Linked DNA regions of Homo sapiens: region 1 is linked to region 2. Evidence: promoter capture Hi-C in 16 types of primary human blood cells and fetal thymus (Javierre and others, 2016). All regions are on one chromosome and are shown on one strand. The core of a region is centred on a gene start or on the middle of the fragment in contact, and the rest is flanking DNA. Distances in the headings are between cores, read along the strand shown.

Region 1 (7,449 bases), core at 2,531-5,030, 78 kb before region 2:
TGTGTGTATATATATGCATAATATATATACACATACATATATAAGTATATATGTGTATATATACACATATATACACACATACTTATATATACATATATAATATATATACACATACATATATACACACATATATACATATATACACATACACATATATATACACACATATACACAAACACAATGGAATATTATTCAGCTATAAAAAAGAAGGAAATCTTGTCATTTGTGATAACATGGGTGCAACTTGAGGGCATCATGCTAAGTGAAAAAGTTGGACAGAGAAAGAGAAATACTATATGATCTCACTTATGTGAGGAATCTAAAAAACAATCGAACTTGTAGTTGTGGAGTAGGATGGTGGTTGCTGGGTGCTTAGTGGTGGGAGAAATAGGGTGATGTTGGTCAAATGGTTAAAAACTTTCCATTATAACATGAATAAGTTCTTTGGATCTAATGTACAGCATTGTGTCTATAGGTAATAATAAATGCTGTATTGTATACTTGAAATTTGCTTAGAAAGTAAACCTTAAAGGTTCTCACCATTTTTAAAAATGGTAACTATGTAAGGTAATGGAAGTGTTAACTAACTTGATTGTAATAATCATTTCACAATGTATATGTATATAAAATTATAACATTGTATATCTTAAATATATACAATTTTATTTGTCAATTATACCTCAATGAAGCCAGGAAAAAAATTAAAATTCTCAGTAATCAGAAGGATTTTCCCCTTATATCAAGATATTGCTCTCAATTGAATTTTTTTCACTTTTTAATCCAAAGTTTACTCAACTGTAAAATGTGGATGTTACAATTAGAAGATCTACTAAATTATTTCTAATCCTGACAATTAATGACTCACAAATTCAGATGTTACCTTCTCATGGAGGACCGAGTCAGAAAGTACAAGGATGGCCAAATAATGGCAGAACAAAATGATTAAACTGTGTGAGAGTTTTCAAATACAATCCCACATTAAAAAGAAAATATGTTCTTACCATGGCCACAAGATTCACCCTCAACCTTACTACCTTAATTTTTCCCCATATTATTTTGCACAAAATATTTGTTCTTATAAATGCCTTTGTCCTATGAAAATATGATCAACATCCCTAATTATAAGTAAATGCAAATTGAAACCACAATGAGACATCACCTCACACCCGTTAGAATAACCACTATCAAAAGAACAAAATAACAAAGATTGTTAAGGATGTGGAGAAATTGAAACTCCTGTGTACTGTTGGTGAGAATGTGCAGTTATTATGGAAGATAACATGGAGGTTTCTCAAAAAATTAAAAATAAAATTACCATATGATCCAACAATTCCACTTGTAGGTATCATCCAAAGGAATTCAAAGCAGGATCTTTAGAGGTAGTTGCATATCTATGTTCATCGCAGCATTATTCACAGAGCCAAGAGGTGGAAGCCACCCAAATGTTCATCAACAGATTAATGAGTAAAGAAAATGTGGAGTATATTCACAATGGAATATTACTCAGCCTTTAAAAATAAGGAAATTCTATCCCATGCCTCATCATGGGTGAACTTCAAGTTATGCCAAGTGAAATAAGCCAGTTGCAGAAGGATAAATATTGTAGGAGTCTAACCATATGAAGTATCTTAAGCGTCAAAACCATAGAAACAGAAAGTAGAAATGTGGTTGCCAAGGGCTAGGGGGTTGGAGAGGCAAAAATTAATGTTTAGTTGGTATAGAGTTTCAGTTTTGCAAGACAAAAAGTTCTAGAACTGTGTTGCACAATGATGTGAATGTACTTAATGCTATTGAACTATATACTTAAAAATGGCTAATATGGTAAATTTAATGCTATATAATGTTTTACCACAATAAAGAAAAACCTATGGTCTAATATTAGAAAGAAATTGTGTAATGAAGTAAACCATCTCAAGAAAGCAGCTGCATGCCTATTGTGGAAATGACAAGCACAGGCACATGTTATCTCACTTGAGGGTAAGATACTCTGCAACCTCTAACTTAGTGAACAGATTGCGCCTGATTCACAGACCGAGACAAATTCTTCCTTTAACTCAATAGCAAACTCAAATGCCTCCCTCTGCCTGCAACAGGGCATACCACCACCTGGCATTCTTTGTTTCCCAGATAGTCATGGTGTCCTTTAGCCCTTTTCATTATTCACTTAACATCAAAACAAAATGCAGCTAATAATATTAGTCTATTTTTCTGGTCTTGGAGAAGTAGCATCTGAATTTAGGCCCTGTGCCCAGATTTCCCACTCTGTTGGCACTGTAGTCTAGGGAAGTCTTTCAAGTTTTTGTTAAGCCTTCAGCCAGGTGAGAGGTACATGTTAGTTTTATTTTATTTTTTTTAAAGGGAAAAAAAAAACAGAACGTCCCAGTCAAAGGGCACCAAACTAAATTGTCATGGGAAAATTGGCCAAATGATATATTTAGTCAATGCTTTGCAGTTTACCTCTCATAAGCCTTCAGGGGCTTTTATATATGCTTTATATATATGCTTTATATACACTCTATTATAGCCTGGAGGTCATACAATGTGCTATGTTTTACTCTAAAATTCACTCTCAAACTCATTCTCTCTCTCTTCTCTCTTCCACTTCCTCTTTCTTTCTCTCTCTCAACTTGATCCAGATTTTCCCAGGGTTCAAGTTATTTTCTAAATGAAACAAAAGCCCTTTTACAAGGTACATTCAAGCTGCTCAGATTACTTTGTTCTAGTCCAGCAGTTACAATTTCAGGTAGAGATGTGCCTTGTTTTATGAGAAAGATTTGTTCCTTAAAAGTTACTGTGTGACCACCATATCAGTGAGATCAGTGTGTCCCTCCATGAATGCTTCTGCTAATTTGTTTCATGAAATGTCTTTTTTTCTCATGTACTCTCCCTCTCTAAGCTTTCCTAAGAATTAAAAAAATAGCAAGCTTACCAACCCTTTGGCTAGTGCACTGAATATAAGATTATTGGGAGAATAAGGAGAGTAATTTAATTCATGGATGTGGTGGCTTATATGAAATCAACTTAGCTAAGCTGGAAATACATCTCCCGAAATTCCCTTCTCTGCATGGTTGTCTATCAGAGTTGCCCACAAGAAAATGTGCACATGTGAAGGTGGAAGTGAAGCAGCAGCATGTTTAAAATGAGATGGAGGTGTAGAAGCAGGTGCTGTTGCATTCTGCCCATAGTCACTGATCTTGTGGCTCACTTTGTCCATCAGGGCAGCTGCAAGCACGTAGTTCCTCCACCTCCTACTGGATCTTCTCTTTAGCTTCTCTGAATCCTGGGCCAAGTTTGTGAACAGCTTTGGGGTGAAATGAGTCAGCCATTCTGCAAATCCCAACATTGTTGGAGTTGGAGGGTTTGGAGGCATTGAGAGACTGATGTGGGTTCCAATTTATCCTTTCTCTCCCCCACTTCATATTGATCTTCCTTTCCAGACTGCTGGCCTTGCTGACTTCAGGCCCAGCACTAGACACAGGAGCAACAGACTTACCTATACACTCACCAAGGTCCCACAATTGCGTGAGATCTCATCCCTATAATAAATATTTTATATCACTTATATGGTTCTGCTTCTCTGATTGAATTCTAACTCCTTGGAAGTCAGAAAATGACATGCAAGACTGAAATTCTTTGATTTGACCAAATCCTACTTGTAATGGCTTTCACTTCACTGTATGGCTGAAGAGGAGAGTAGTGGCATCCAGACTTGACTTCTCACCTTCTCTGGAGCCTCACTGTGAGCAGAGACCAGGAGGACAACTTCTGGCCTCCCTCAGGGGTCTCTCTTCACAGTCTTACCCTTAACCCTGTCTCTACTCTGCTGTCTCCCTGTATTTACCACTGTCCAGCCATGAGCCTGCTGGTTCATGTGTGTTTAGAGCCACTTCATATCTAAAATCAGATCTGTGTATATCAAATCATATTTTTTTATTGCAAACATATAGTTTTTCCTTTCTCATTAAATTATTAATTAACAGTGGACTCTGAAAACTTCAGCTCTAAGAATTGCTCCTTTATGGGCTGGGCACGGTGGCTCACACCTATAATACCAGCACTTTGGGAGGCCGAAGTGGGCGGATCACCTGAGGTCGGGAGTTCAAGACCAGCCTGGCCAACATGGAGAAACACAATCTCTAGTAAAAATACAAAATTAGCCAGGTGTGGTGGTGCATGCCTGTAGTCCCAGCTACTTGGGAGGCTGAGGCAAGAGAATTGCTTGAACCCAGGAGGCGGAGGTTGCGGTGAGCCGAGATTGCACCATTGCACTCCAGCCCGGGCAACAAGAGTGAAACTCTGTCTCAAAAAAAAAAAAAAAAAGAATTGCTCCTTTATGGTGCAGAGGAAAGAACACTGGGCTATGAAGTCAACTTCAACTCTGATCAATCAGTATGACCTTTGGGCAAGCCCCTGAATCTCTCTGGATCCTCCAGCCTTCAGCTGCAGAGAGAAGAAGCTGGAGTTGATGATCTCTAAAGACTCCTCCAACTTCAAACATTCCATTCTAAATAAATGAGATGCTTTATCTTTAAAGAAGTTGGAAGTAAATATTTCCAGAAGCAAATACTTAGACTCTTATGCATATTCAAAGACATACCAAACATAGACACAGCTGTATGAAAGTATGTTCTGGAATGAAGCTTAGAGCACATTTAATATTCAGTCATTGTTACTAAATTAACCCTAAGTCTTAGCACACTTATTTATATAGTTTCTGATCCTTTATTTTTGTTTTGATAATCTTTTTAGATGTATACTGCCTCAATCCCACTTGGAAGTAAGCGAAATATATACCATAAGGAAATAATTAAAATATTCTAGCAGCTCTGCAGGAAAACTACCTCAATTTAAAACTCCTTCATGATATCACCTAGGAATAGCAAATTAATGTATTATATTAATGTTGCTGAAAGCAATTCAGCTCTCAAAGGGCCCGGATTTACTTCTAGGAAGTGAATTTGGCTCCAGAAAAAAAAAAACTAAGCATATTTTTTGTCAATTTGACCAAGCTCCCATGGACTGAAATAGTTTTAATCTTTTCCTTATAGGAAAACTCCCTTATTTATCTGGGTCCTCTACCCTACCTGAGCTAAAGAATACCTAAGCCCAGTCCCTCATTTTGTGTAAGGGGCCTGAGACATTAATGTCTGTCTACTCCCTACTATAAGAACCAGGTCCGTATGTTTCATTATCACCAGTCTCTATGCCCAGGGACTGCCAGATCCCTGCTCCAGAACCAAATCCAGGATCCAGAGCTCTGCTTCCTATGAACAAGTGAGCCAGGTACTAGCTTCCTCTCTTCTCAAATCTCCTAGCATTACCTATGGGTCCATTTCTCAAGGACAAGGAAGAGTAACTCAGAGCCTAGAGGGCAGAGATAAGAACCATGGGAGATCATTCTCAGATAATAAGTATAAGAGCAAAGTAAGCCCTAATAAAGGAATTAGCCACATGTGCCTTGGAGATTTCAGAATTGCTGTGAACCAGTGGCTGCTGTGTGCCTCCTACTTTCTCACTTTCTGAATGGGAGTATCTACTGCAGTTATCCTATTCCTGTTCCACCACTGTAGGACAGATCATCAGTCTCTTTAATTTACAGGTTTTCAGATTGAGAAGGATGGTACTCAGGAAGATGGACTTGAGGAACCACACTGCAGGAGCCTCAATTGCATGTGGACCTCGAGTCTGAGCCTGATTTAATAATGGAATGAGATTGTTCTAGAATCTTTGGTGGAGTGAATATATGTTGCATTTGGGAGGAAAGTAAACAATTGTGGTCATAGGACAGATTGTGTTTTAACATATGGCCCCAAATTTCTTTAATGTTTTTCTCATTGAAAAGTAATGTCCATGTTTCCTCCATTTGATTCTGGCCAGCGGCTTAGGACTTCTACACCAACAGGCTATGGCAAAAGTAATGCTGTGTGACTTCTGAGGCTAGGTCTGAAAAGGACGTGCAGCTTCTACCTCCTTCTCCTGGGATCCTAGCTCTTGGATCCCAGCCACCATGCTATGAGGAAGTCCAAGCTGCCACATGGAAAATCTGAACACCTGAGGCTGATGTCCCACTATCACCAGTCTCTATGTAGGTATTCAGACCAACAGCCCCAACTAAGGTCCAACAAGATGTGTGAGTGAACAAGTCTTTAGATCTTTCCAGCCCTAGCTGGAACTATCTGCCTGTATTTACCATCATTGCTGTACCTGTTGGGGGATTCTCCCATCTCATGCCTCAACCAGGATGAGAGATTGCAGTGCCCTTGGGTCCTGTTCCTTTTCTGTCTTGCTGACTATGCCTCACCACCATCAAACACACTAGGCTACACCCAAACCCTGTCCTTCCTCTCACCTGCTTTGATTTGCTATGATAAACTGCACTGCCTTATAGCTGAATCTCAAAATAGTACAAACACAGTGGTGCACAACATGACTATAATTAGGCAGTAAATAAGGAGAATGAAGTCATAGTCTAATACTTGACACTTGGCAATATAATCTGTTGAGATGAGCCTGAGACGTCTGATTTTTTTTTTTTTTTTGGCACCTAAATCTAAGCAAATTGCACTATGTCTCCATCTCCACATTGGTATAGTACAAGGACCAACGATCAATAGATGACAAGCTTTTACAAATCTCCAGCTTCACTTGGTAGAACCCCAAACCAGATACAATTGCCTCAGACCCCTCTGTAGGCAATCCAGGATTCCCTATCAGGAGGGAAGTGCAGCCAGCAACAACTTCCTGGTCAGTAGCTACCACTCCTCCCACACACTCAGTCTCCTTTGGACCTGAGATCTCAAGCCTTCAAAGAAGTGAGATGTTCTCCTTCTCCCAAAATGCCATCTGGCACACAGCCCCTAAGCCTCTGCTCTCTACTTCCTTCTGCCAGGCAATGCCATCAACGCTTTTCTTACTGAAAGGCCATGTGTTACACAGTACTACAATAATCCTCAAGATACTGAAAGTAATGCCAAGTGAAAGACCAAGGGGGTGGGTGGAGGGCTAATGGGCTGGACGAAATAGCCACTTGATTGCTAGTTCATACAAGATGTGGCAGCAACTCCTTTTCTGGCTGGAGATCTTGGATGTCACATCTTAGAATCAGGTGGCAAAGCATCTGTGAAGGGCAATGTGGCATCCCAGACAGTGGGTGGTGAGATCAGGAAGAAAAAATGGAAATCAACAGATGGTGGATCCTACAGCTGAGAACTGATTCTTCAATTTGACATGGTTGGCATAAACATTTTAAATGGAGCTTGGTAAAGATCAGGTTATTTTACCATTGACCAAGCTCTTGGCTTCTAAAAGGTCCTAAATTTTTGTTTCCTTTGCTTTCACGAGTGTTTATTTGCTTTCCAGGAACTTCAGGGAAAAAGGTTAAGTAATGGAGGGAGGAAAGAGGGAGGGGTTGGCAGATCAAACACAGGACTTAAAAGTCCTAGATCTAAA
Region 2 (6,561 bases), core at 1,067-3,566:
TCTGGCACAATTTAAGAAATGTGGTTCAGAAATTTGCCTGTGAATGGTACATAGGTGCTGGAGCTTCCTTTCTCAGATTGCCTGGTGCACACAGCAGGGATTAATGTATCAACTTCATGTATGCCCTGGACTGGAAAACCTCCCAATTTTTATTTCCTTTTTCTTGCACCCATTTCCTCAAAATCTTACTCATTAAAATTGACAGTGTAGACTGGCAGGTCGAGAATGTGATGGCAAAGAGAAAGTTGCAAGTTCCCTTGAATGGTTAATCCTAATCACACATGCATTTATTATTTGCACATTTTTTTTTTTTTTTGGAGGGGGGACAGAGTCTCACTCTATTGCCCAGGCTAGAGTGCAGTGGTGTGATCTCAGCTCACTGCAACCTCAGCCTCCCGGATTCAAGTGATTCTCCTGCCCCAGCCTCCCAGGTAGCTGGGATTACAGGCTCCCACCACCACACCTGGCTAATTTTTGTATTTTTAGTAGATATGGGGTTTCACCACATTGACCAGGCTGGTCTCGAACTCCTGATCTCAAGTGATCTGCCCACCTCAGCCTCCCAAAGTGGTGGGATTACAGGCGTGAGCCACCATGCCCAGCCTATTTGCGCATGTTTCCTACTGCCGGAAGAAGGAACAGTTCTCCCATATACCACATTCCAGGGCATCCTATGATCACATAAGAACACAATCCTCCTGCCACAGGTAAGCGCAATGTACCAGGAAACAGGTTGCGGGTAAACCATTGTTCTCCCTCTGCCATTATGATAGAAATATCATGACAGGCAGCTCTGCCCCCAAATCTTGCAAAATCTCAATGTGCACCTCAAGTTTGTATTGTTTTAGCCTATGATGGAACTGACAGGTTGGGGAAAATGGAAAGCAAAGTTCCATCAGTCTGGATCGCCTTTTGTAGTGTCCCCAGTGAGATCATAGCTGGAGAGGCAAGGATGTAACTCACTCAAAATTTAAGGCTTATGGCCAAAGTTGATGACTAATAATATAGAATTGTAGGTTTGGGCTTTTTGCTTTCTTAAAAAACTCTGTCAGGTTTGGAAAGGGACCTCCAATCTAATTTTGAGATACCACAGGTAATGTCCAATTGTCTTAAGGTGTGACTAAAATTTTTCTTTTGTTTGTTTTTTGTTGTTGTTTGTTTGTTTTGCTGTGTTTTGAGATGGAGTCTTGCTCTGTCACTCAGGCTGGAGTGCAGTGGCACAATCTCGGCTCACTGCAACCTCCACCTCCTGGGTTCAAGTGACTCTCCTGCCTCGCCTCCCAGGTAGCTGGGACTATAGGCATGTGCCACCACGCCAGGCTAATTTTTTTTTTTTGTATTTTTAGTAGAGATGGGGTTTCACCATGCTGGCCAGGCTGGTCTTAACTCCTGACCTCAAGTGATCTGCCCACCTCGGCCTCCCAAAGTGCTGGGATTACAGACATGAGCCACCACGCCCAGCCTAAAATTTTTCAAAATAAACTTGCTGTTACTTTTCTTCTTTAATTTAAAAATACCTCTATAGGCTACATGAGAGTTTTTGAAAAAGTAGCCATGTTTGGCATGGAAATAGGCCCCAAATATGTCAACACCTGTATTTCCTTCCAGATTTCAGTCCTATAACTTTGGACTCCCAACAGATTAAGAATCACTGGTCTAAGGTTTCTAAAGTCAGGGTAGATCCCTTTCCCAAGTGACAGCCACAAATCCAACGCTGTATCATACCCTATCTAAAGAAAAGATAAAAGTAAACTGGCTTGGCACAGTGGCTCATGCCTGTAATCTCAGCACTTTGGGAGGCCAAGGCAGGCGGATCATGCGGTTAGGAGTTGGAGACCAGCCTAACCAACATGGTGAAACCCCGTCTCTACTAAAAATACAAAAATTCGCCGGGTGTGGTGGTGCACGCCTGTAATCCCAGCTACTCAGGAAGACTGAAGCAGGAGAATTGCTTGAACCTGGGAGGCGGAGTTTGCAGTGAGCTGAGATTGTGCCACTGTGCTCCAGCCTGGATGACAGAGCAAGACTCTGTCTCAAAAAAAAAAAAACAAAAAACAAAGATAAAAGTAAACTGAAAACAAGGATAGAAATGTCTGCTAACATGCTCTGTGACCTTGATCAACAGCTTTCCCCGCTCTTGGCCTTGGTGTCCTAACTTAAATGGGGAAACTGTGATCTCTCTCAGCTCAAAATTTACATGACATTATTTACATACCAAACCTGCCCTACGCTTCCTGGAAACTTTACTACTTATGAGTGTGGCTCCTCCTTCCCTTTCAATCCCTTAATTAAATAGCTTCCCCTCTACAGGCTTTTGAAGTGGTAGCAGTTCCTCCTAACTCCTGCCAGAAACAGCTCTCCTCAACATGAGAGCTGCACCCCTCCTCCTGGCCAGGGCAGCAAGCCTTAGCCTTGGCTTCTTGTTTCTGCTTTTTTTCTGGCTAGACCGAAGTGTACTAGCCAAGGAGTTGAAGTTTGTGACTTTGGTAAGTAGACTTTTCTCATTGCTTTTTCCTTAAAACTGTGTTCCCAGCAAAGTCTGATAAGGCAAGCGTCAGGTTTCATCTTATCCTTGGATTGTTTCCCAGAGACCAGGCTCTGTTCAAACTCAGAAAGTGAATAATCAAGTTTTGCAAGTTCCTCTTAATGAAGACCTAACGTGTCCTAACAAAAATATTTTTTGGTCGCTGTTTTTTTAGGGGTTGCTTTTTATTTGCTTTTGCTGATGTTATTTATTTACTTACTTTACAACTGCCTTGAATTCAGATTCCTTTTGACAGCCACACCAGTCCAGAAGAAACCACAGCTGGCGCTGTTTATGTACCAAGAGCTGGCTTCATTCAATTTAATCATTATTTGTTTGCAAGCCAAAAAACAGTCATTTTCTGAATTAAGTAGTCCTTTCACCTTTGTTTATCAGGAAATTAGAACAACTATTTGTAAACAACCTTGAAGCATAAAAGTGAATCTAAATTTGGAATTTTAGGATGATTTTCTGATATATAGATTTAGTTGACGATTAAAATCATTGGCACATGTGACCAGTTATGAAAAAAGGTGGGGGGTGGCTGATGCATAATATCAAGAAAAGAAAATATACTGTTGACATTGTTTGAAAATAGATGGAAAGAGGGTTTGCAAAGTGAAGGGGATTCATCATGTTACCTAAGAGTCTGATTTTCTGTTTCTGTATCTTTTTTTCCTTCTGTTTCACTCTTTCTCTGCCTCTAAGCCTCTAAGCTGCTTCTTGCCTTTCCTCTCTCGTTTTCTTTCTCTTCCCTACATTTTTTTATTTGAGATAGTGAAAGTGGGCTGATAAGTAGGTAAATTTTCTTTCTGTCAAGAATACTCAAAAATTATTTTTATAATTTGAAGGAAAGTCACTGTTTCCTTAAAAATTAAAGTTCAGGCTTTTTTTTTTTTCAGCATGGGATATTCAAAGCTCTTTACTTTCTACAGAAAATATGATACCCATGTGCTTATTTGAATCATTATTCTTATAGTCCAGTAAATCCTTACTAGGTCATGAGTCAACAATGACAGAAAACCCAGTGAAACAAACTATCAATTTATTTACAAATGATTCACCAGCTGTCAGACTTCTGTGCAGAAAAAAAATATATAATACTGTGTGCCTTCTTTAGGGAAACCCATGTGAGCTAGGCTTGTACTTCTATCAGTAGTTTTCTTGCTAACATGTGCATGAGGCAAGTTTAGGGACTGTAGAAATTGTACTGCATCTGCCGTGCTTGTAATACTGTAAACCTGTGACAAGCTGGTTGAGTGGCAGTCCTCTGAGAAATCCAAGTTACTCCAAGCTCACTGTACATGATGTATTCCCTCCTCCATGTTTTACCCAAGTTAGCCCAGGCTAACTTCCTTTGACTACCAAATTGTTGTGGGTTTCCTATATTCAGGGACTGCAAGTTAATTCTTTCCTGAGGAAAGCCAAAATACAAAGCTAGCTCTCTTAGAACTAAAAAAATTAACAAATATTGCACAAAGCCAGTGTTAACTATTTTTTCCTACCATGATTTCCTTCCATTAATGGTAGATGAAGGGCCATTTAATACATCTTTCTTGGCCCTTATAAAACAACGTCCATCTAAGTACTTAAGCCAATAAACATCAGTTTCTTATTTTTATTGACTAAAGAGAATATTTGACTATAAGTGGTTAATTTATACAAATGAGATAACTCTTAGAAAATTATTAGGAGAACCAGAATTGTTTTAAAAGATGCCCATAACTAAAGTGGTAATATTAATGATAATAACCAATAGTCAATTGAGTGCTTACTGCAAGTACTTACTGCAATTGAGTGCTTACAAGGCACTGTTCTGAGTGTTCAATATGAATTGTATCACATAAGCCTGTCAACAATCCTCTAAAATAAGGTCGTTAAATAAAATATGGGATGACCATTTGAATTTGAACTTCAGATAAATAGCAAATAATTTTTTAGTCCCATGCAATATTTGGGCATCCTGTATGTTTATTTGCCAAATCTGGCAACCATTCTATAAAGTTTTGTAAAACTTATTATTCCTATTTTATAGATGAAGAAATTGAGGCACAAAAAGGTTAAGCATCTTGCCCATGGTCACACAGATGGAATGGTGGAGACAGAATTTGAACCCAGGCTCTCTGACCCCGGATGCCTTTCCCTTTATCACTAGACATGGTCTTTTCCTGCTGTGTGTATATAACCCAGCACATGGAGCTAGTCTGAGATCCCCCTGTAAGGTTTGCTGGATTAGCTTGACTCTGAATCAGCAGGTGGTTCCCTTGCTTTTCCTCTGTGATCCGAGAAAAATAAATCCTCCCCAATTCTGAAAAGCTGTTCTCAGCAGAAAGAGGAGGAAACTGTCCTTGGTTCTTGTTCTCGGACTAACTGAAGTGCCTGTGACCCATGAAATGCTAGTTTGACAAGTTGTTAACAGGTGTACATGGGGAAAAAATCAGTTTCAATAGTCAAGTTAGCTTTGGGAATAGAACTGGGTTAAACTGTGTTTAAAAGGTCTCTTTAATGCAGTAATCCTAAGTCTTTAACATGCTAATACGCACTGTGGCTTTCAAGGAAAGGATCTAGTGTTTTCCAAACTCTGTTTTCAAAATTTTGATTACAGCATTCACCTCCCTCTTTTTTTCCCCAATGTCCTGTAGAAAACACTGAGAGAACTGACATTTTTAACTTTATATGGAAAGAATCGTAAATATGGTGAATCTGGATGTCCTCATCAACCAGCTTCAAAGACTATCACCCATGCAATCTTGTTTCATCTGCATAGCCACTCATTTCCCACACACACCCACTTGAGTTTTTTAAGTTATTTCATGCACCATATCATCCAGAAATAGAAAAATGTCATTTTAAAGCATCCTGTCTCCCCTAACCCAGAGAAAACCCACAAGTTCAGCTGATCCAAGACAGAAAAATTCCATCTCATTTCACCGGTGTTAAGAAAGGAATGATGACTTACAAGGTATACACTCTTCTCATTCTTCATGGTTGACTTTCTTCATGCAGAATTCTTAATCAAGTAATATAATATTCTTGGGTTTTTTTTTTTTTTTTGAGACAGAGTCTTACTCTGTCGCCCAGGCTGGAGTGCAATGGCGTGATCTTGGCTCACTGCAACCTCCGTCTCCCAGGTTCAAGTGATTCTCCAGTCTCAGCCTCCCAAGTAGCTGGGATTACAGGCGTGTGCCACCATGCCTGGCTAGTTTTTGTATTTTTAATAGAGACTGGGTTTCACCACGTTGGCCAGGCTGGTCTTGAACTCTTGACCTCAGGTGATCCACCAGCCTTGGCCTCCCAAAGGGCTGAGATTACAGGCGTGAGCCACTGCGCCTGGCATAATATGATATTCTTGATGGAAGCAGCCTCCAAATTCTCAGCACATAATCTATATACTGGAATGGGTAACTTCCACATTATGGACATGAAGGACCTCCTAGCTACTAGGGAAGGTGGAGCTAGAGGATCACTTGAGCACAGCAGTGTGAGGCCACATTGAGCTAGGATCACACCATTGCACTCCAGCCTGGACAACAGGGAAAAACCCTGTCGCTTGGGTTGGCTTATAAAAAGAGGTACCAGAGGCTGGGTGCAGCAACTCACACCTGTAATCCCAGCACTTTGGAAAGCCGAAACAGAAGGATTGCTTGAGGCCAGGAGTGCAAGACTCCAGGCTGGTTAACATAGTAAGACCTCATCTCTGCAAAAAAGAAAAAAAAAAAAGATGGACCAGATAAAATTCCACTGAAAAGCAAAAATCAGGTCTCCTGCCTCAGTTCACAAACAACCTTACATACAATCTCTCTCCCTTGCTGTATGGCTCCTAATCACTGTATCCAAGGAACAGCCAAGCTGTCTGGAGACCACAGGTTTTTCAAAGACATTTGCCGGAAACAGCACCGTGCGCTGAGAGTTGGTACTGAGCCAGGCTCAGTTCAGTTTGCTTACATGAGCTTCTCCCCAGATTTATGCCAATGCATTTCACAAATTTTCAGGGTGCATTTGGCCAAGACATTTCAGCCAACCAGGTTATTCCTGTG

What was found. The method cuts DNA at HindIII sites, captures the fragments that hold promoters and counts their contacts. A CHiCAGO score of 5 or more calls a contact.
Region 1: a contact is called between a fragment that was not itself captured here and the fragment with the promoter of ACP3 in region 2, in 1 of 17 cell types (neutrophils). The highest score is 6.0, in neutrophils.

The regions. Positions count from the first base shown.
Region 1 is chr3:132,235,219-132,242,667 of GRCh38, forward strand. No RefSeq gene overlaps it. Among named protein-coding and RNA genes, the nearest start is that of TRC-GCA9-1, 7.1 kb to the left of the region's middle. The HindIII fragment of the contact is 1,716 bases long and covers 2,923-4,638 here.
Region 2 is chr3:132,315,091-132,321,651 of GRCh38, forward strand. It overlaps ACP3 (acid phosphatase 3), which reads left to right and starts at 2,317. Exons shown (of 10, transcript NM_001099.5): 1 at 2,317-2,486. The coding sequence starts at 2,367. The HindIII fragment of the contact is 19,921 bases long and covers 1-6,561 here.